7 separate regions of the Homo sapiens genome follow, and regions 1, 2, 4, 5, 6 and 7 are each linked to region 3. Evidence: promoter capture Hi-C in 16 types of primary human blood cells and fetal thymus (Javierre and others, 2016). All regions are on one chromosome and are shown on one strand. The core of a region is centred on a gene start or on the middle of the fragment in contact, and the rest is flanking DNA. Distances in the headings are between cores, read along the strand shown.

Evidence for each region. Contacts are between HindIII fragments. The CHiCAGO score rates a contact against its expected background, and 5 or more counts as called.
Region 1: a contact is called between a fragment that was not itself captured here and the fragment with the promoter of NDUFS1 in region 3, in 1 of 17 cell types (total CD4 T cells). The highest score is 5.4, in total CD4 T cells.
Region 2: the fragment with the promoter of C2orf69 here is called in contact with the fragment with the promoter of NDUFS1 in region 3 in 1 of 17 cell types (total CD8 T cells); the score reaches 5.4 in total CD8 T cells.
Region 4: a fragment that was not itself captured here is called in contact with the fragment with the promoter of NDUFS1 in region 3 in 1 of 17 cell types (total CD4 T cells); the score reaches 8.5 in total CD4 T cells.
Region 5: a contact is called between the fragment with the promoter of TYW5 here and the fragment with the promoter of NDUFS1 in region 3, in 7 of 17 cell types (naive CD4 T cells, total CD4 T cells, total B cells and 4 more). The highest score is 12.1, in naive CD4 T cells.
Region 6: a contact is called between a fragment that was not itself captured here and the fragment with the promoter of NDUFS1 in region 3, in 1 of 17 cell types (neutrophils). The highest score is 6.9, in neutrophils.
Region 7: a contact is called between the fragment with the promoter of BARD1 here and the fragment with the promoter of NDUFS1 in region 3, in 3 of 17 cell types (total B cells, monocytes and neutrophils). The highest score is 7.4, in total B cells.

What each region holds. Positions count from the first base shown.
Region 1 is chr2:199,933,988-199,936,687 of GRCh38, reverse strand. TYW5 (tRNA-yW synthesizing protein 5) reads left to right here. Exons shown (of 8, transcript NM_001039693.3): 6 at 196-283; 7 at 641-757. Among named protein-coding and RNA genes, the nearest start is that of TYW5, 20 kb to the left of the region's middle. The HindIII fragment of the contact is 2,345 bases long and covers 181-2,525 here.
Region 2 is chr2:199,909,899-199,912,598 of GRCh38, reverse strand. It overlaps C2orf69 (chromosome 2 open reading frame 69), which reads right to left and starts at 1,306. Exons shown (of 2, transcript NM_153689.6): 1 at 828-1,306. The coding sequence starts at 1,160. It overlaps LOC101927687 (a long non-coding RNA gene), which reads left to right and starts at 1,453. Exons shown (of 4, transcript XR_923766.4): 1 at 1,453-1,574. RefSeq lists an enhancer at 985-1,174. The HindIII fragment of the contact is 7,031 bases long and covers 1-2,700 here.
Region 3 is chr2:206,158,018-206,160,717 of GRCh38, reverse strand. It overlaps NDUFS1 (NADH:ubiquinone oxidoreductase core subunit S1), which reads left to right and starts at 1,274. Exons shown (of 19, transcript NM_005006.7): 1 at 1,274-1,377. EEF1B2 (eukaryotic translation elongation factor 1 beta 2) reads right to left here and starts at 823. Exons shown (of 6, transcript NM_001959.4): 1 at 659-823; 2 at 8-130. The coding sequence starts at 738. RefSeq lists a silencer at 487-556 and enhancers at 817-1,076, 1,187-1,596. The HindIII fragment of the contact is 3,079 bases long and covers 1-2,433 here.
Region 4 is chr2:197,504,352-197,507,051 of GRCh38, reverse strand. All of the region lies in intron 2 of HSPE1-MOB4 (HSPE1-MOB4 readthrough), which reads right to left. Among named protein-coding and RNA genes, the nearest start is that of HSPE1-MOB4, 5.3 kb to the right of the region's middle. The HindIII fragment of the contact is 1,868 bases long and covers 319-2,186 here.
Region 5 is chr2:199,954,088-199,956,787 of GRCh38, reverse strand. It overlaps TYW5 (tRNA-yW synthesizing protein 5), which reads left to right and starts at 1,297. Exons shown (of 8, transcript NM_001039693.3): 1 at 1,297-1,395. The coding sequence starts at 1,318. It overlaps MAIP1 (matrix AAA peptidase interacting protein 1), which reads right to left and starts at 1,206. Exons shown (of 5, transcript NM_001394955.1): 1 at 540-1,206. The coding sequence starts at 989. RefSeq lists enhancers at 774-873, 894-1,053, 1,224-1,343, 454-1,653. The HindIII fragment of the contact is 7,808 bases long and covers 382-2,700 here.
Region 6 is chr2:197,426,373-197,429,078 of GRCh38, reverse strand. The region is part of intron 1 of SF3B1 (splicing factor 3b subunit 1); the gene reads left to right. Among named protein-coding and RNA genes, the nearest start is that of SF3B1, 7.3 kb to the left of the region's middle. The HindIII fragment of the contact is 5,523 bases long and covers 1-2,706 here.
Region 7 is chr2:214,808,260-214,810,973 of GRCh38, reverse strand. It overlaps BARD1 (BRCA1 associated RING domain 1), which reads left to right and starts at 1,291. Exons shown (of 11, transcript NM_000465.4): 1 at 1,291-1,562. The coding sequence starts at 1,405. It overlaps SNHG31 (small nucleolar RNA host gene 31), which reads right to left and starts at 745. Exons shown (of 4, transcript NR_110292.1): 1 at 542-745. RefSeq lists a silencer at 813-1,382 and enhancers at 1,933-2,012, 2,303-2,352. The HindIII fragment of the contact is 4,673 bases long and covers 564-2,714 here.

The sequences.
Region 1 (2,700 bases), core at 104-2,603, 6.2 Mb after region 3:
CAGTACTGCAGAAATGTCTTGAAGGCCCAGTTGTATATGGAATACAAATGTTTTTATTGTTAGGTAACTGTAAGAGTCTTAAGTAAGTCAAGTCTCATTAAAGGATCGGGTTTGCAGTTAAAGTTTAGCATGCCATTGGTTCTATTTATTTGAATTTTAGATAATGATTACCCATAAGCTTTTATTGGTCTTCAGGTAATGGATAATTTGTTAATACAAGTGACAGGAAAAAAGCGTGTTGTACTCTTCAGTCCTCGAGATGCCCAGTATTTATATTTAAAAGGTATGGGATTTTTTTTAAGTTTATATTTCAAAAGTCTATTCAGTTACTCTTTTTGAGAAATCTCTTGATTCTTATAGGAAAAGAACACTTCAGTACTTAATCCTAATTGTATTTGTGTATATATGTAATAACAGGTTCAAATTTGAAATTATCTTATTACATGGGTATCAGTCATCAGAATTAAAGAGTGAGTCATTGAAAATTGTCTTAGGTGTCAGTAGCATAGTAATTCTCACAGTGTTGGTACAGTAAGTAACTGGATAGAAAAGAATAAATTTTCAAATTTATATTTGTGATTACTTTTTTTAAAATGCTAACTTTGCTGAATCTATATTATCCCTTTTTGGAACTTTTTAGGTACTAAATCAGAAGTACTGAATATAGATAACCCAGACTTGGCTAAATATCCACTTTTTTCCAAGGCTAGAAGATATGAATGTTCCCTTGAAGCTGGTGATGTATTATTCATTCCTGGTAAGATTTCTAGACCTCACTAATGTGCTATTTATAAAATGTGTACTCTGTCACTCATCCTTCATGTGATTTTTTTTTTTTAGTACAAATATATATTTGTTATATGTATCCGGTCCTATACAAGATGATTTTTAGACAAAACTCTGTGTGTGCGTGTGTGTGTATGTGTGTGTGTGTGTGTGTGTGTGTGTGTGTGTGTGTGTGTGTGTGTTTAAAGCAGGCCTAGGCAAACTTATTATAAGTTAACAGCCCTTGTAGTTTTGGCCTATAAGTTAACAGGTCTTGCACTTTTGGCCTCAAGCAATCCTCCCAACTTGAACTTTGGGAGGCCAAGGTGGGAGGATTGCTTGAGGCCAAAAGTGCAAGACCAGCATGGGCAACATAGCGAGACCCCGTCTCGACAAAAATAAATAAATAAATTTAGTCAGGCATGGTGGTGTGCATCTGTACGTCCCAGCTGCTCGGGAGGCTGAGGCAGAAGGATCTCTTGGGCCCACGAGGTTGAGGTTGAGGTTGAGGAGGTTGATGCCATGGCATCATGGAATCACTGTACTCCACTGTGAGCAACAGAGTAAGACCCTGTCTCTGAATAAACTAAATTAACAGTCTTGCTTTCAAGGGCAACCTATAAAAATAATATTATACTCTATTTTACTAAGTGACATCAAGTAAGACACATTTTTTATAGCTTTTATTTATTTATTTATTATTATTTTCAAAGTGGGACACTTTATATCTGGGAAAAGATTATACTTGTTCGTTTTCTAAATTATTTTTTAAAAATAATATACTCTATTAAATGACATCAAGTAAGACACTTTATATTTGGGAAAAGATTATACTGATTGGTTTTGTAAATTATTTTATTTTAAAAATATTTCTGTATTTTAGAACTGTGTCACTTAAATATTTACCAAAAAAAAATGATAAGTATCTTTCAAGGCCAAAACAGATGAAAGATTTCATATTAAAATGTTATAATCTCAACACCTGTAGTATCATTTGTGTACATTATTTTTCTATACAGTCTGGATTTGTGTCACTTAATTTCTTTGTTCAATTAATAGGCATTAGTTTGAAAGTCCATAAAGTTCAACACAGCAAGGTAATTAACATCTGTAATTAATACTTAAAAGTGAACTCTTGAAGATTATAAAAATCATAATTAAAATTAAAGGGATATATTAACAAATTCTATTTATAGTTGTAGTTCCATATTTAAATTAATCTATTAAGAATCATTAATACTTTTCACTGATAAAAATAAGTAAATATTAATAAAGATCCATATTTGATGACTTCTTTTGGGACTAGATTATAAATTCCTTGAAGACAACTATGTTTTGTTCATCTTTGTCTTCCCCAAAAGGGCCAGATATGATATAATGGCTTTCATATAATTGATAATTTATAAAAAGTTGACTTTTTATTCTTATTTTCATTGAAAGCAACGAACGTATTAGTCTTCAAATCTATTGCCATCTTTTAAATTTACACTTTTGGTTTTTGTATCTTGGGAGCATGATTAAGATCTATGTAGTTTTCCCTTATTCTTCATACAATTGTTTTAAGAAAAAAAAAAATACTGAACATTTGCATATATTTTTAAACAAAAGCAAAATTCCTGTCTTTGGGTTTAAATTCAGCTGAATGGTTAGCATTTTCTTCCTATTATATTGAATAAGGGAAAAAAAAGATTCTGAAAGAAAGTGTAGTTAAGATTAAAACCATGTTTGAAAATTAGTTTTCCAAATCAAAATGTTAAGCTTTTGTTTTTCCTTAAACACTCTTAGAATAAGTTTCTAAAATTTAAATCTCCCTTTCACAGGATTAAAAGGGTTTTTCCTGTGATTAGTGTTCCATCTTTGTTATATTGTGGTATTGCTTTAGTATTCCTCTAGCACCTATATTCTGAAAATGTTTAGATTCAATTGAAAATAAAG
Region 2 (2,700 bases), core at 57-2,556, 6.2 Mb after region 3:
CTATGATGATGGATTATTTTCTATGATAATGCTATATATCTGTGCTGTCCAATACAGCACACGCAAGCCATCTGTAGCTACTGAGCACTTGAAATGCAGCTAATATGAATAACTGGATTTTTAGTTTTATTTAATTTTAATTAATTCAGATAGCCATATATGGCTAATGGCTACCATATTAGATAATGCAACGTTAGATTAAGACCCAGTTTTCAGGGCAACATAACCACGGATATTTACCTGCAGCTATAAAATAATAAACATAACATGCAAAAGCAAAAGTACAAAAGAGGTGAGCATCAAAACATTGACATGCTTAATAATTATTGTCCCTTTTCTTCCACCCATCCCCACTCTTTTTTAGGGTTACTGGATGTCATACCTTTGTAATGTTTGTTTGGTTTTTAATTACTGCCACCGTTTTCTAAACACTACGTGCTAACTTAATTTGAAAGCCATCGCTCTGTCCCCTGCCCAACACACACACACGGTCCTCTGAGAAACCAAATTATAGAATAAATATACAAGATGCGTGTCACTCCCTGTCTCAAATTCCGCCTCTTGGAAACCTGGACCGACAGCTGGCTCTTTCGAGATCGTAGCCCTCGTCGGACACCTTCCCCATGGGGTTCTATGGACAAAGGGCGCCAAGGGCGTGGAAGGCACGGTTTTGGATTTCGTGGAGTAGAGGAAGAGCCACCCTCAGTGAATGTGTGGGTGTGTTCAGGCAAGGAAAGGAACCAGGCAGCAGCCACGAGGGAAGAATCAGTGACCGCGTACGTATACACGAGAGGAAGGAACAGATACCCAGGCAGGCCCCGAGTTACCTGCACATCCCCAGGGAAATAGAGGACGTGATGCTGGGGCGGCGGCTGCGGCTCCTCCTTCGCTGGGTCCCCGGGGAGGTCCTGCCGCTCCAGTCCCTCCCCGGCCGCCGCCAACAGGAGCAATTCGTTGCTGCGCTGCGGATCGGCTCCAGGCACGGTGGAAAGCTGCAGGCACTGACGGCGGCGCACCTCGGCCGAGAGGGAGCATCGCGCGCCGCCGCTGCCGCCCGGGTTCATGGTTCTGGCCTGAGAGCAGGACGAGGCGTTTCCGATTCCGAGCTGCGGCAGCAGGAGCAGCAACGGCGGCGACCGCAGGAGCCTGAACCCCCACATGGGTCGCCGCCGCGAGAGCGGTTCGGAGGTGGAGGGTGGCGGAGGGGTTCCTGAGGGAGGGACTTCAGCAGGCGGCTCAGCCGGCGGCTCAACGGTCGGCGGCCGCGGCCCGGCCGGGAGCCGGCGCTGAGGCGACGACGTCAGAGGCCGACGTCCGCGCGCAGCGTGCGTAAGGAAAGGAAGGGAGGGGTGTGGGCGAAATCGGTCTTGGGATCCCGGAGAAGACGGTGGGCGTGGCTTGAGGAAGGGCGTTTGTGATTGGTGGGTTCTGCCGCGGCCGGGAAGTTCGAACAGAAGTCTGGGGAAGAGCCGGCGAAGAGCAAAGAGATAATACAGTACTCCCAGCTATAGCAAGCGGCAGTTATGGAGCATGCGCAGCAGCAGGGGCGGCCGCAGGTCGCCGTTCAATAATACGTAATGTATAGACTTTTGAGTATACGAAGCTCCCTGTTTCTCTAGGTTCACCTGAGATTTATCTGGTCTTTCAGGGCTTAAAAGGGAGACATTCCCAAAGAAGATTCCGTGGGAAGTCTCCTACAAGCCCCGAAGGAAGGGAATCTCTCTCCTCATACCTTGAGTTTCCTGAGTACAATTATTATAGATATACGAAGATCTCTGTGCTCATGGAGAATTTGTGGTTAGATATGAAGCTAATTCATCTCTGTTTGGGAACAGGGTACATGATCTAGGACAGGAAAAAAACGGGGCGAGGCAGTACGCTTTACTTGGTGTTTTGCTATTTGGAGGTTTTCAAAAACTAAACAGTGTAGGAAAGTCATGTGTGTCCAGCAACTATCTGTGGCCAGTTGAGTAGGAATAAGATTTGGCGAAATGTATGCTCAGGCCTGTACTCCCAGCACTGTGGGAGGCCGAGGCGGAGGATCACTTGAGTCCAGCAGTTTGAAACCAGCCTGGGCAACATAGGGAGGCCTTGTCTCTACTAAATTTTTTTTTTTAATTAGCCGGGCGTGGTGGTGCATGCCTATAGTCCAAGCTACTGGGAGGGCTGAGATGGGAGATTGGATCGCTTGAGCCCAGGAGTTGTATGCTGCAATGAGTTGTGATCCCACCACTGCACTCCAGCCTGGGCAACAGAAGCAGACCCTGTCTCAAAAAATAAACCAAAAACAAACAAAACAGGGAAATGTGTGCGAGCGAGGATGAGATCCAAGTACTTGTGAGACAAAGCACTGTAAAGAGAATAATTAATGAAAATTACAAAAAACTACAGCCAACATTTGTTGAGGGTTTACTATAGGCCAGAAATCTAAGCACTTTATATATAATTGTTCGGAGTTTATATATGTGTATTTAAGCACACATACTGTTTTCTTTGGTCTACATATGCAAATAATAACAAATGGCTTGGAGTAGGAACATAAATGAGCAAATGATAAAATATGATTTATATATATGTATAGACTTGGTGACTTAGTATGCTAACCTACTCTGGTCTAAATTGTTGCATTCCATCTGACATCAAAATATTGTTATCAATCAAAAATTATTCAATTAATTACTAAGGAAATCTGCCGCTTTC
Region 3 (2,700 bases), core at 25-2,524:
ATTTTACCTGGCCTTTTCCTTTTCGTAAGACTTGATGTGATTATACCAACGTAGGGCATGACACAAGTCGGCAGGCGGTGGGCTGGACACGGCTTCAAATACTGCCACATCTGCTTGTGATGGCACATACCTGCCAAGGACACAGAAACATTCACACACACCTTTGAAAAACAAACGCCAGCGAATAAATAATAAATACCGTATGCATCACATTAATTAGTGGGCACTAACCCCAGCAGGGTTGCTTTAATGCTTTTCTTTTCTTATTAGCTCCTTCAAATCAAACCATATGTTTGGGTCACCGCGCTATCCTGAGAAATGTCTGCCACTAAGTAGACCTCAAATACTGCAATGTCTGGCGTTGCTCTATCTACAGCTTAACATGTATTAACTGGGCAGCGATGCGGAAACACCTGGCTGAATTAAGTGTAAATAAAGCACATTTTAACCTTTCCTTGCTCGTGAACCGCTCCCCGGAGGCCGGGCTCGCCCCACACGAGGGCCTTGGGAGACGGCAACGGGGCGCTTTCCCCTCCCTCTCGAAAGGGCCCCGGGCCCGGCCTCCCTCCCTCCCGCGGCAGCCGACACGCTGCGCCACGTGGCCCCGGCCCCGGGCGGAGAAACCTCCCCGCCACCCCGACTCAGCCCGTCCGCTCACCCCTCGATGTAGCTCTTGTCCGCCAGGTAATCGTTGAGCACCTGGAGGCCGGCAGGGCTTTTCAGGTCTCCGAAACCCATGGTGTCGGCTGTATCCGAGAGCTGGGGAGCAGCAGAAAGAGAGCGCGCAAATTGTGGGCGCCCCACGCTGAAGAGAGGAAAAAGGACCCGAAGAGACCGGAAAATTCCTTATATAGAGACGGAGGCGTTTCCCTCCACCGCGCCGGACCGAAGGTTAAAGGTCAAAGTACTTTTGCATTCCCACTTCTCCACGTACGAATTGGGGGCCCTGAATTAAATGGCCCACAAATTGTCCATGGACCTTTCGTTGCGTTTGGAAGTAAATTAATAAAATAGGCATGTCTTAAGTTCGTACCTCCACGGCTCCCGAAGATGACGGGAACCAGCCCTAGAAGCGCCGGAGATGACCGAAGACGCCCGGCCTCGAGGCTGGGGCCACTTCCGGCGGAACTGCGGGTCCAAGTTGTCCTTCCCGCCTCCGGGCTGGGCCGACCTCAGCTCCGCCCTCTGGTCGGCTGACGGAAATTGCCGACAAACTTGTCGAATGCAAGGATTCTAGTCCCTCCGGGCTTTCCGTTCTCCAGGCCCGGCTGACAGAGTTAGCCGAGGCCGCCATATTGAATAAGCGACCCGGCCTCCTAGGGGGTCGTCGTGGTCCAGACAGTTTAGCAGAACAGCCTCCGCGGCTCCGGGGAGAAGGTGAGGTCTTGTATGGATGGGAAGGGTGAGGTGCGTCGGCCAGAGGCTTATTTATTGACGGGACTGTTTCCTTTGGCCCACGCGACGTAGTCTTCTGTTGTCCTTGACTGGGCGCCGCCTCCCGCCCCGCCGCCTCGGAAGCCCCTGAGAGCCGGCAGATGGGGGGCTTTTAGCCACGGTCTCTGGTCTGATGAAGCAGAAAAGAAGATGAGGATCAGGGGGTCCTCGGGAACGCTGTCACGAATGTAGGCTTGCAGGTGACCTTCCCTCTGCAGGGAAAATTCAGGACATTTCCCTCTCAGAGGAGGAGGCCGTTTTATTCCCCGGGAGAGGACCAGTGTCCGATGACTTAGGCCTTAAGACTAAGCCTTTCCCCCCAGATTTTTACACGCCTGATACAGTGCATGATTGTTTGGTCGCTGTTGTGTTAGCAATGGCTCACGCTTCTGTTTGTTGTCCTTGTTTGTTTGGTCCATTGACCACGTTGGACAGCATTTTTTTATTCCTTTAACTAACGGGAAATTGAGAAAAACGACTTTTGAAAAGTTAGCCCAGGATTGCATTGCAAATAACAAAACGTTGTTTACAGGTTATTGGGATCCAGTGCTTGAACTGTAAGGTCTTGGATCAGACACAACTCTGTTCACACACGAATTGACGGTATAGAAGTGTAACGTTAACTGTTTTTGATGAATAAACAAGTTATTTTTGTTTTGCGGAATATTCTTGTTTTCACCGACTTAAGGCTGCCAGAGCACCTGCACTTTTTAAATCCGGGAAAGTGGTCTCTACAAATTAACGACCAGAAATTAGAGATTCAGTTCACTTAACCGTTATTGAACATTTACTACGAGCCAGAAATGAGTCCGTAAAGAAGAATAAAATGGATGATATGCTGGGGGAATCGTAAATGTTAGATAGCCTGGTCAATGAAACTGAGAAAAGGCTTTTAAGCCAAGATTTGAAGGATAAGGAGGGGCCAGGGAAGAGCATTTCAGTCTGAGGTCACAGCCGGTGGCAAGAGGGGAGAGGCTGTGTGGGAATAGTGTGGAAGCTTGGTGACCTGTTAAGCTATTGAAGGCCGGAGGCGGTGGCTCACTCCTGTAATCCCACCACTTTGGGAGGCCGAGGCGGGCGGATCACGAGGCCAGGAGATCGAGACCATCCTGGCTAACACGGTGAAACCCTGTCTCTACTAAAAATACAAAAAATTAGCTGGGCGTGGTGGCGGGCGCCTGTAGTCCAGCTACTTGGGAGGCTGAGGCAGGAGGCTGGCGTGAACCCGGGTGGCGGGGCTTGCAGTGAGCCGAGATCGCTCCGCTG
Region 4 (2,700 bases), core at 3-2,502, 8.7 Mb after region 3:
ACTATTACCTTAGATATCAAAACTAATTTGCTGGGTCTTAGGAAAATAGCATTGGAGAATAATGGGAAAGCCATAGCCTTTGAACAGATTCCTTACTCTACAATATATTAGCCACATGTCCTTGGAACGATTTCTTATCTCTTAAGTCAAGGTTTCTCATTGGTAATACAGAAAAATCTGTGCTCCCAAGATTATGATGAGCAAAGCATATTATCTAGCTGTGCGTGAGTAGAGTATGAAATTGATAATCCACTTAGACAATATAAGAAATAACTTTTAGGCATAATTCCAGTATCGAAGTTTGACAAAAAGTAAGCTTTAGTACACCAAAGGCAGTAACACGTGCATAAACGTAAATATACATATAGTGGAAGTACCTACTACTTTACAGATGGGAAGATGATCAAAAGTTGAGATCATTATTCCATGCCATTTAAAACTTTAAATTTTAATTCCTCTCAAAATAAATACGGGACACAACCTTTAAAAGACATTATCAGACTAGTTTATGGATAATTAAACCTAGAAAATAAGTTTGACTACTAAGACAGCTGGTAGCTGATAGTTGAGTTTAAGGGTTGGTAATCAATTCTAGCGTAGGATTCTTTTTTTTAAAGACAGGGTCTCATTCTGTCACCCAGATTGCAGTGTGGTGGCACAATCTCGGCTCACCAGAGCCTTAACCTCCCCACCTCAGCCCCTTGAGTAGCTTTTTGTATTTTTTGTAAAGACAGGGTTTCACCATATTGCCCAGGCTGTCTCGATCTCAAGAGATCTGCCCACCTCGGCCTCCCAAAGTGCTGGGATTACGAGCACAAGCCACCGCACCCAACCAAATTCTAGTGTAGTATTATTGGGTTTGAATCTTAAGTCTTCTCCCTAGCTGCTACAGCTATATCAAGCTATTTATCCTCTGCTTTGACTCAGTTTTGTTAAATTCAACACATGGTGTACTAGGAACTTAAGTGACATACATCATTTGGTACTACCCATTCCCCATACCACAGTGGGTATCACCAGGATTAATTGAAATAATGTGTATTAAGTGCTTAGAATTAACAAAGTAGCAAAGGCTATAAAGGATCAAGTTTTAAACAGTAACATCTGGAGATGGACTGTGTCTGAATCCTGGCTTTGCCACTTACCACTGAGCAACCTTGGTTATTACTTAACCCCTTCTATGCCTTAGCTTTCTCATCTGCAGGTTGAGAACAGTACCTATCTCATAGGGTTGTTGAAAGATTAAACCAATTAATACATGAAAAGCACCTTCAACAGTAACCAGCACCTAGAAAATGCTCCGGTTAGCTATCCTATCACACAGTGCTCACCCCAGAGAGAAGGCACTCAGCCAATGTTAGCTATCATATATATATATATATATATATATATATATATATACACACACACACACACACACACACACACACACACACACGTATATACATGTGTGTATATATCACATATATCATATATGTATATGTATCATATATATACTTTTTTTTTTTCAAAACAGTCTATGTCACCCAGGTTGGAGTGCAGTGGTGCAATCTTAGCTCACTACAACCTCCGCCTCCCAGGTTCAAGCCATTCTCCTGCCTCAGCCTTCCAAGTAGCTGCAATTACTTGCCTTAGATTTTTTTTTTAACCAAATTATGTAGCAGTGTTAAGTTTTTAAAAATGAAATGAGCCGGGCGCGGTGGCTCACGCCTGTAATCCCAGCACTTTGGAAGGCCAAGGCAGGTGGATCATGAGGTCAGAAGATCGAGACCATCCTAACATGGCGAAACCCCGTCTCTACTAAAAATACAAAAAATTAGCAGGGCATGGTGGCAGGCGCCTGTAGCCCAGCTACTTGGGAGGCTGAGGCACGAGAATTGCTTGAACCCGGGAAGCGGAGATTGCAGTGAGCCAAGATCATGCCACTGCACTCCAGCCTGGGCAACAGAGAAACTGTCTCAAAAAAAAAAAAAATGTTCACTCCAGAATTAAATTTTCCTAAAATAAAACAAGACATAAAAAAACACTTGGAGGATACCAGAGCAACTCCAGTATTGCTAAGTGGCCTTAGATACTTGGTCACTGGATGCTGGGCAGCTTCAGGTGAAGATGGTGGTCACTGAGGCTCAGGTAACCATGGAGAGCTTCTCAGCACTGTTCTTTCCAATGCAATACAAAACAAAGCTTAAAAGACGCAATGTATCTGGGAAGTTAATTGGGGTGAAACTATGGATTACAGCTGAGCCAAGGGAAAAATGTACCACAGCTGAGCGGGGTGACCCTGGTGCGCTCACTGCTTTGTCATTGCTGCTGGCCGCCAAGGACGATCACCCCTCAAGGACTATGTGATGCCTTTTTCACGTTGTCTTTCAGAAACTTGATAGGACATCATATGCCTGATATTAAATGCCAGTATCAGGTTAGAAACTACACTGAAGTCTTCCTGTTTCTCATCTCAACTACATTGAGGTCACACTGACTAGGTGAGCATGTGGCTGTTTTCCAACTCTGACAAACTAGTGTCAAATAGAAAAGCATAAATATAACCCATCACCATTAAAAAAAAAAAATAAGGTAATGTCCTAACTTTAATGTACAGAAGTTGATTTTCCGAAATATTGACCAACTCTTAAAGTTCTAAAAAATAAAAAAAGCTGCCAGGTATGGTGGCTCACTCAGGCCTGTGATCCCAGCAGTCTG
Region 5 (2,700 bases), core at 48-2,547, 6.2 Mb after region 3:
ATTGGTCGGCTCTGTCTAATAGCTGGCAGGAAGTTCTGCTCTTCTACCCAAGGTGACATTACAGCACTTTGGAAATGTTATCTCAATTATTCTTCAATCTTACCCATTTATTAATGTATTCAGCAAACATTCATGGAGTGCCTACTATGTGCCAGGCATTGTCTTGCCCACTTTGTAAATTTGAAAATTATGTTCAGACAAGATGAGCCATATAGCTTTTTCTTTCTGAGACAGGGCCTGGCTCTGTATCCCAGGCTGGAGTGCAATGGCACGATCACAGCTCACTACAACGTCCAACTCCTGGGTTCAAGCGATCCTCCCCTTCAGCCTCCCAAGTAGCTGAGACTACAGGCGTGTACCACCATTCCCGGCCCAGAAGCTTACTTTAAGTCAAGCAATGGCTGGAAGGCTCTATGTCTGGGCCACTAATCACGTTTGATCACTTGTATCCCAGTGAAGAAAACTCACTGCTAAGCACTTCTGCGAGCAATAGTTGAACTCATTAGAGACGGATAGGTCAATCAGGGAAATAAACAAACCTGCTTCGCTCCCTCGGAGAACTCTGTGATGCTGAACTCTTTGTCGAAATAGGCCCAGATAAGGAAGGCCTTAATTCGAGTCCTAACCCAGTTGATGGGGTTGGAGAATCCCAGGACGATCATCTTGGTTTTCTGGTGCTGCTGGGGCTTCTCCTCCGTGCTGTAGCTGCGCTGAGGGCAGGCAGGGAAAGAAGCGAAGGCTGCGGGGAGTCCCGGGCTGCTGAGCACTGGCCACCGGGAGCCCTGGGCAGGTAGCGCCGAGGCTGCCAAGGCCCTAGCGCTTCGTGGAAATAACGCCGCTCCCAAGCCGAGGCGACAGCGGCAGAAGTAGCAAAGTGTGGCCGACGGCAGCCTCACCTCGGCCACAGCAGGAGTCCGGAGTCGGACGGCCCCGCAGGGCAGCGACCGAGAGTGCAGGAACTGGGGTAGCAAACGAGCGGCCAGCGCCATTTTTATGACCCTTCACACCGGTGCCTGCCGGTGCTGTATGGAAAGGAAGTCGGTGGGAAACCGCCTCAGCGGTGTCGGAGAAAGAGACTGGAGAGCAAAGTGGACCTGTTGCTGCAGCCTCTGGTGAGTCGGCCCCGTCCCCGCTCTCCAGCACGCAGCCCAGGCCGAGGCCCTTCGGCAACCCGCCCCGCGCTCGGACCCAGCCACTCTGGAGTCTGCCGGCCTCGCGGACCTTTTCTCTGTCGCTCGTGTTTCCGGGCGGATGGCGCTGAGGAACGCTTTAGAGCCGAAGTTCCGAAGACCTGGAAGAGGGCAGGCGTGAGCAACCATGGCCGGGCAGCACCTCCCGGTACCCCGGCTGGAGGGCGTTTCTCGGGAGCAGTTCATGCAGCACCTCTACCCACAGGTGAGGCCCTCGCGCGGGGCAGAACCTCGAGAAACCAGCGAGAGACACGTCTTTACCTTTCGGACAGCTGGGAACTGGTTTTTAGAGACCCAGGGTGTGGGAAAGAGGCGCAGGACGGCAGCAGATCACTGGTTGGCCCTTAGACCAAGGGAAAGGTGCACGGGGGACGCCGACTGGCTCCTCTATTGAAATTTCCGGAGAAAGTCCCATGTTTCTGGGGAGCAAGATGATGGCGGAGAGCTGAGTGCGAGAGGTATTTTGCCTAAACTCTTTACTCCGCATCTGTCAGTCTGCTCCGAATTAATGGATTTGAAGGCACAACTTTTCACTCCACTGAGCCAAAAAGGAAAGCAATGGGATTCCCCCGGAAAACTCCTACTCGTCTTGAATTCTAACTTACTTAGGTTCTAGTTCCGACATTGGAGTCTTTTATACCTGTAGTTAGAACCTTAGGTCTTTAAAAGAAAACTCATAGAGAAATATTAGGGAAACAAAAAGTGCTTTTACTTGCAGTGCTTTTCAAGGGAGTCCAGACCTAAGAAAAACAAGGTATTAAAAGGAAAAATCCACAGGATTACAGTAAGTCAGTTTATGGTAGGAAAAATACCCAGCAATTTTCTTACCTGATATTTACATTTATAAGGGTGGTCATAGAATTACAGTTCTGGGGCCGGGCGCGGTGGCTCACGCCTGTAATCCCAGCACTTTGCGAGGCCGAGGCGGACGGATCACCGGAGGTCAGGAGTTCAAGACCAGCCAGTAGAAATCCCATCTCTACTAAAAATACAAAATTAGCCGGGCATGGTGGTGGCCCATACCTGTAATCCCAGCTACTCGGGAGGCTGAGGCAGGAGAATCGCTTGAACCCGGGAGGCGGAGGTTGCAGTGAGCCGAGATCGCGCCACTGCACTCCAGCCTGGGCAACAAGAGCTAAACTCGGTCTCAAACAAACAAACAAAACTACAATTCTGAGTGTTACAAAAGTCGGATGGGCTGGGCGCCGTGGTTCATGCCAGTAATCCTAACATTTTGGGAGGCCCAGGTCGGTGGATCACTTGAGGTCAGGAGTTCAAGACCAGCCTGGCCAATATGGTGAATCCCCGTCTGTACAAAAAATACAAAAATTAGCCGGGCGTGGTGGCGCACGCCTGTATTCCCAGCTACTCTGGAGGCTGAGGTCGGAGGATCTGCTTGAGCCCGGGAGGTCGAGGCTGCAGTGATCCATGATCCTGCCACTGCTCCAGCATGGGCGAGAGGGTGAGACCCTAGCTTAAAAAAAAAAAAGGCGGGGTTGGGGGGATGCGG
Region 6 (2,706 bases), core at 203-2,702, 8.7 Mb after region 3:
GACGTTTCTTTGCCTCAAGTCTTCATTGTTTTTGACCTCTGGTTACTCATTTTGGTATGTTCTCTCATTTTTTATTTTCATAGTTGCCAACCCCCGCCTTTTTTTTTTGAGATGGAGTTTCACTGTGTCGTCCGGGCTGGAGTGCAGTGGCGTGATCTTGGCTCACTGCAACCTCTGCCTCCCAGACTCAAGCGATTCTCTTGTTGCCCAGGCCAGAGTGCAGTGCTGTGATCTCGGCTCACTGCAACCTCCACCTCCCAGGTTCAAGCGATTCTCATGCCTCAGCCTTCCAAGTAGCTGGGATTACAGGCGTGCCACCACCATGTCTGGCTAATTTTTGTATTTTTAGTGAAGACAGGGTTTCACCATGTTGGCCAGGCCGGCTTTGAACTCCTGATCTCAAGTGATTCAACTGTCTTGACTTCCCAAAGTGCTGGGATTACAGGCGTGAGCCACCGCGCTCAGCCAGTTGCCAAGCAGTTTTATGCATTGATCATTTGTTGTCAGAAATGATCTATTTGCATATTTTTAGTCAGTTTATATTTAAGAAATTATAGGAATACTTACACACCAGGCTGTAACTTAGTGTTGGTTTTGAAAATACGGAGTTAGAGACAACATTGTTATTCCCAGAGATAAAAAATTTGAAGTGGAATTTTACAAACCTTGGCTGGCATGGATAGGGGAGAGAAAAATTTGGAAAATTACTTTTAATTACTTCTACAGATTACCTATTTATTTATTTACTTACTTATTTAGAGGCAAGGCCTGGCTCTAACACCCAGGCTAGAGTGCAGTGGTGTGATCTCAGCTCACTGCAACCTCCGCCTCCTGGGCTCAAGCCATCCTCTGACCTCAGCCTCCTGAGTATCTGGGACTACAGGTGTGCACCTGTAGTGACTAATTTTTGTATTTTTGTCTAATTTTTGTAGAGACAGGGTTTCATCATGTTGCTTAGGCTGGCCTTGAACTTGTGAACTCAAGTGATCTGCCTGCCTGGGCATCCCAAAGTGCCCAGCCTCATTACCTTTTAATTAATTAATTAATTAATTAATTAATTTGAGACGGAGTCTTGCTCTGTCGCCTAGGTTGGAGTGCAGTGGTGCGATCTCGGCTCACTGCATCCTCTGCCTCTTGGGTTCAAGCAATTCTCTGACTCAGCCTCCTGAGTAGCTGGGATTCCAGGCACCCACCACCACACCTGGCTAATTTTTATATTTTTAGTAGAGATGGGGTTTCACCATCTTGGCCAGGCTGATCCTGAACTCCTGACCTCGTGATCCACCCGCCTCGGCCTCCCAAAGTGCTGGGATTACAGGCGTGAGCCACCATGCCCGGCCCAGATTACCTTTTATGAAATATTTTAACATGCAGAAGAGAATAGGACAAAATATAATGAACACTAACCCACTGCTCAGCTTTATCAGTTCTTCATTTTCTGCCGTATTTTTTCCCACCTTTTTATTTATTTTGAAAACGAAACCTCAGACACAAAGTTACCTTATTTATGAATGTCATGGTAATAATTTGTTTGCTCATAAATATTTGGGTATGTTATATTTGGTATTTTAGCACATAGTTTATTAAGAAATTTCTGAGTTTTTAGTTCTCTGAATTGCATAATAAGCTGCTGAGTTTTATGGAATCTGACGGCTTAATTTTATGGATCACATGGTGTATGTGTAAATGTGCTGCAGTTTGCAGTGTGTTAACAAAGCCCATTAAGCTGTTTGGACTTTATATCTATAGTTTCCAGCAGACAGAAAACAATGCCTGATTTGCATATAAACATTTAATTGTACTGCCTATAAGAAGTTCAGTAATATACTCACCTTAGGATTAATTAACTACAAACAGCTGCCTAGCCCCAGGAGATTTTGGGCTGGGTAATTTTGTTACTAAATTTTAATAAGAACCTAGTCATGATTTACATAGATTTCATACCAACACTATTTCAGTACTTTATGAACCTTTGTAATTGGAAAACTCTGATGCTAATCAGCAGGTACATAAAATCAATAGTTAAAATTCAGTAGCTGAAATTAGTTCCAGAATAAGTGTTATCCAAATGAGAAACTAGTTGCTGAAACTTCAGGATGGAAAAGTTGTTTAGATGGAAAATAAGAGAGATGCCTGATAAGGGGGAAAAAGCAAGTTGCACAATATGTGTAGTGTGCAGTTTTTATAAAACAGCACCCCTTTCCTGTTTTTTAGTTGTGTATGAGGTAGAGAAAAGTATAAAATGATGCTCTAAATTGGAAAATTTGGTAGGGGTGGGCTGGGGTTGGAAATGGGAGGGGTGAAGGGCCAGGTAAAATAGTTTCCTAGGGTGTTTGTTAATGATGCAGAATCCTGGGCTTCACAGCCTGAGTTGGAGTTTCAGAGTTAGTGTATCCAAGACCTAAGGTTCTACCTTTGTAACAGGTGCACCAGGTCATTTCTTTGTAGGTGGTCCTTATACTAGACTAATGCTGTAGAGGAGATTGCAGACTATTTCTCCTGATTCATCCATTTGTTTCTTACCTAAATCCTCATGGAAGTAGCATTTGTGGTCCTTTTACAAAAACCTATTTAGGTAAAAGTGATAAATGCACCTGTGGTTTAAAAAAAAAGCCTGAAGCTGGGCGTGGTGGTGGGCATCTATAATCCCAACTATTTGGGAGGCTGAGGCAGGAGAATGGCTTGAACCTGGGAGGCGGAGGTTGC
Region 7 (2,714 bases), core at 42-2,541, 8.7 Mb before region 3:
TAAGGAGTTTTAAGAAAGGGAAGTGCCACGATGAGTTTTGTGTTTGGAAATGTTTTAGGCGGCCACACCGCAGTCTCGGGACTGGCTGGGACCTGGATAGACACTTGGATATCAGCTAGAAAGCTACGACAGGAAACCAGGCGAGGACGAGGCAACTGGGGATGTTGTGGAGCAGAGACGGAGAGAAAATGGGTGCATTCGAGACAAGTTAGGGGGAAAAAATGCAAGGACTTGGAAATGAACTTGGGGCGCGGCAGGAAGGCATGACGGGTTGCTCTGTAGGTCTTATCTGTAAATTACGGCGATCAGTGAAAGATCTGGAGGAGGAAGGTGGACACACTCTCTAACAAAAAAAACCCTTTTTGAAATTTTATACCAATATTTTAAAAGTAAACCAGATCTTTTCAGACATGCCTTTGAGCTGATATTTGTTAACTAGTTAGAATTAGAAACTTTCCTTATTTTTACTCAGTTACAATATACGCCACAGCTGAGGTGAGAGGAAAGAAAAGGTTGCTTTCTTAGGAACAAAGAGTGGTACCTTCAGTATCGTGGGCAAAGCTTTTCCAAGTCCAACAGCAGTCAAAACAGCGCTTTTTATAAATAACACTCAGCTAAAAGTTTCTGGGTTTGTGATTGTTCCAACGGTTAAGCTCGGATGAGGGTCCCTGGAGTCGTAGCTCCCGGGAAACGTCGACTGGCTTTCCACCTGGACTTCATCCGTCCAGGCAGCCCAGAGGGGCTTCAGGCCCCGCCCGCTCTCCTGCCAACTACAGCCTCGCGACTGCGCTCAGCCTTCAGGCCCCGCCCCTTCGGTCAAGCGGCGTGCTCTCACTGCACGGCGCCTGGGCCCCGCGCGCCGGGACCTCGGTTTCAGCCGTCCTGTCCTGCCCCGAGGCCCCTAGGCCCCGCCCCTGGGCCCCGCGCGCCAGGACTTCGGTTTCGACCGTCCTGTCCCGCCCCGAGGCTCCTAGGCCCCGCCCCCTCTGTCCCCGGCGTGTTCTCGCGGCTCCGCCCCTAGGACCCGCGCGCCGGGACTTTGGCAAGTTTCAGCCGTCCGGCCCCGCCCCCTCGGTCCCACGGCTCTCGCGGCCCCTCCCCTAAGTCCCACACGCCGGGACTTTGGCAAGTTTCAGCCTCCAGCCCCACCCCTAGGTCCCGCCCACTCGGCCAGCGGCTGGCTCTCGCGGCCCCGCCCCTGTGCCCTGCGAGTCCCTATTTTGGGAGCATTGCGGCCGCCGTGCCCCGCCCCTCCCCGCGCGCCCCGCCCCTCTGGCGGCCCGCCGTCCCAGACGCGGGAAGAGCTTGGCCGGTTTCGAGTCGCTGGCCTGCAGCTTCCCTGTGGTTTCCCGAGGCTTCCTTGCTTCCCGCTCTGCGAGGAGCCTTTCATCCGAAGGCGGGACGATGCCGGATAATCGGCAGCCGAGGAACCGGCAGCCGAGGATCCGCTCCGGGAACGAGCCTCGTTCCGCGCCCGCCATGGAACCGGATGGTCGCGGTGCCTGGGCCCACAGTCGCGCCGCGCTCGACCGCCTGGAGAAGCTGCTGCGCTGCTCGCGTTGGTAAAGACGGAGCTTCTTGGGGGTGGCTGCGAGGGCACGGGTCGCACAGTTTCTGGGGGCGGCAGAATCTTTTCAAATCTTCCGTTTCCTCCTTCCGTTCCCGCGCTGCAGTCGGGTCGGCGTGCGGTTAGCACCTGCCGGGGGATATAGTATTAACAACTTCTGCTTCTCATTCACTTTATTTTTGGGCGACTTACCGGCCTCCCCTTGCCCTGAATCCAACTGAAACGGTAGTTTTTGAACTTCAGCGGGCTGAAGAACCGTCTGGAGGTGTGGCTAAAAAAATGTTCATCCCGGTCGCGCCTCCAGAGTTTGAATCGGGCTGGGGTGGGGCTGAGGCTTCTGCATTTTTTACCCGGCCCTGGATTACCCCGCTGCTTTCCGGGAGCTGTGGCGAATTGGGCTGGCGGGCCGCCCCGGAGACCCTCTAAATTAGAAGCAGCTGCCACTCTAAGTTAAACTGGCCTTTTTGACATTTTCTCCGTGCCAGCTTTTTCGAGTGAGATGGGATGGAGCATCGGATATCTACCATAGTTGTAGATTGAAGATGGCACGGAATTTCTCATTTTCTTAGTTTGCTCAAAAGACTGTATGTCTGGTGTCCCCGCTCTTAGTGATGCTGTTTATTGTTTTCCTTCATGCTGTCACATTATGGGAGTCCTCTCAGGGTTTTCATTCCGTCCAAAGACATTTTCATGAGTGTTACTTCTTGCTTTTTTTCGTGTAGCTCTTTCTAGTATACAAACCAAGAAGGTTTGTAAAACCCAAGAAAGGTTTGTCTCATTTTCATTTCTTCTGAAAAGCATTTTTATTGAGCACTTGCTGTGTGTACAGCTAAGTATTTCTGTATGAAGATCACTGGCAGTTTTTTTGTTATTTGTAGCTGTCAAAAGTTTATATCCTTTTTGGACTTTTTTCCCCTTTGATTTCTAACTTGCAGAACTTAAGTTACCTAGTTGCATAAAGTATAAGTAACACAACTTTTTCTTTTCTTTCCTTTTTTGAGACGGAGTCTCGCTCTGTCGCCCAGGCTGGAGTGCAGTGGCACGATCTTGTCTCACTGCAAGCTCCGCCTCCCGGGTTCACGCCATTCTCCTGCTTCAGCCTCCCAAGTAGCTGGGACTGCAGGCGCCCGCCATCATGCCCGGCTAA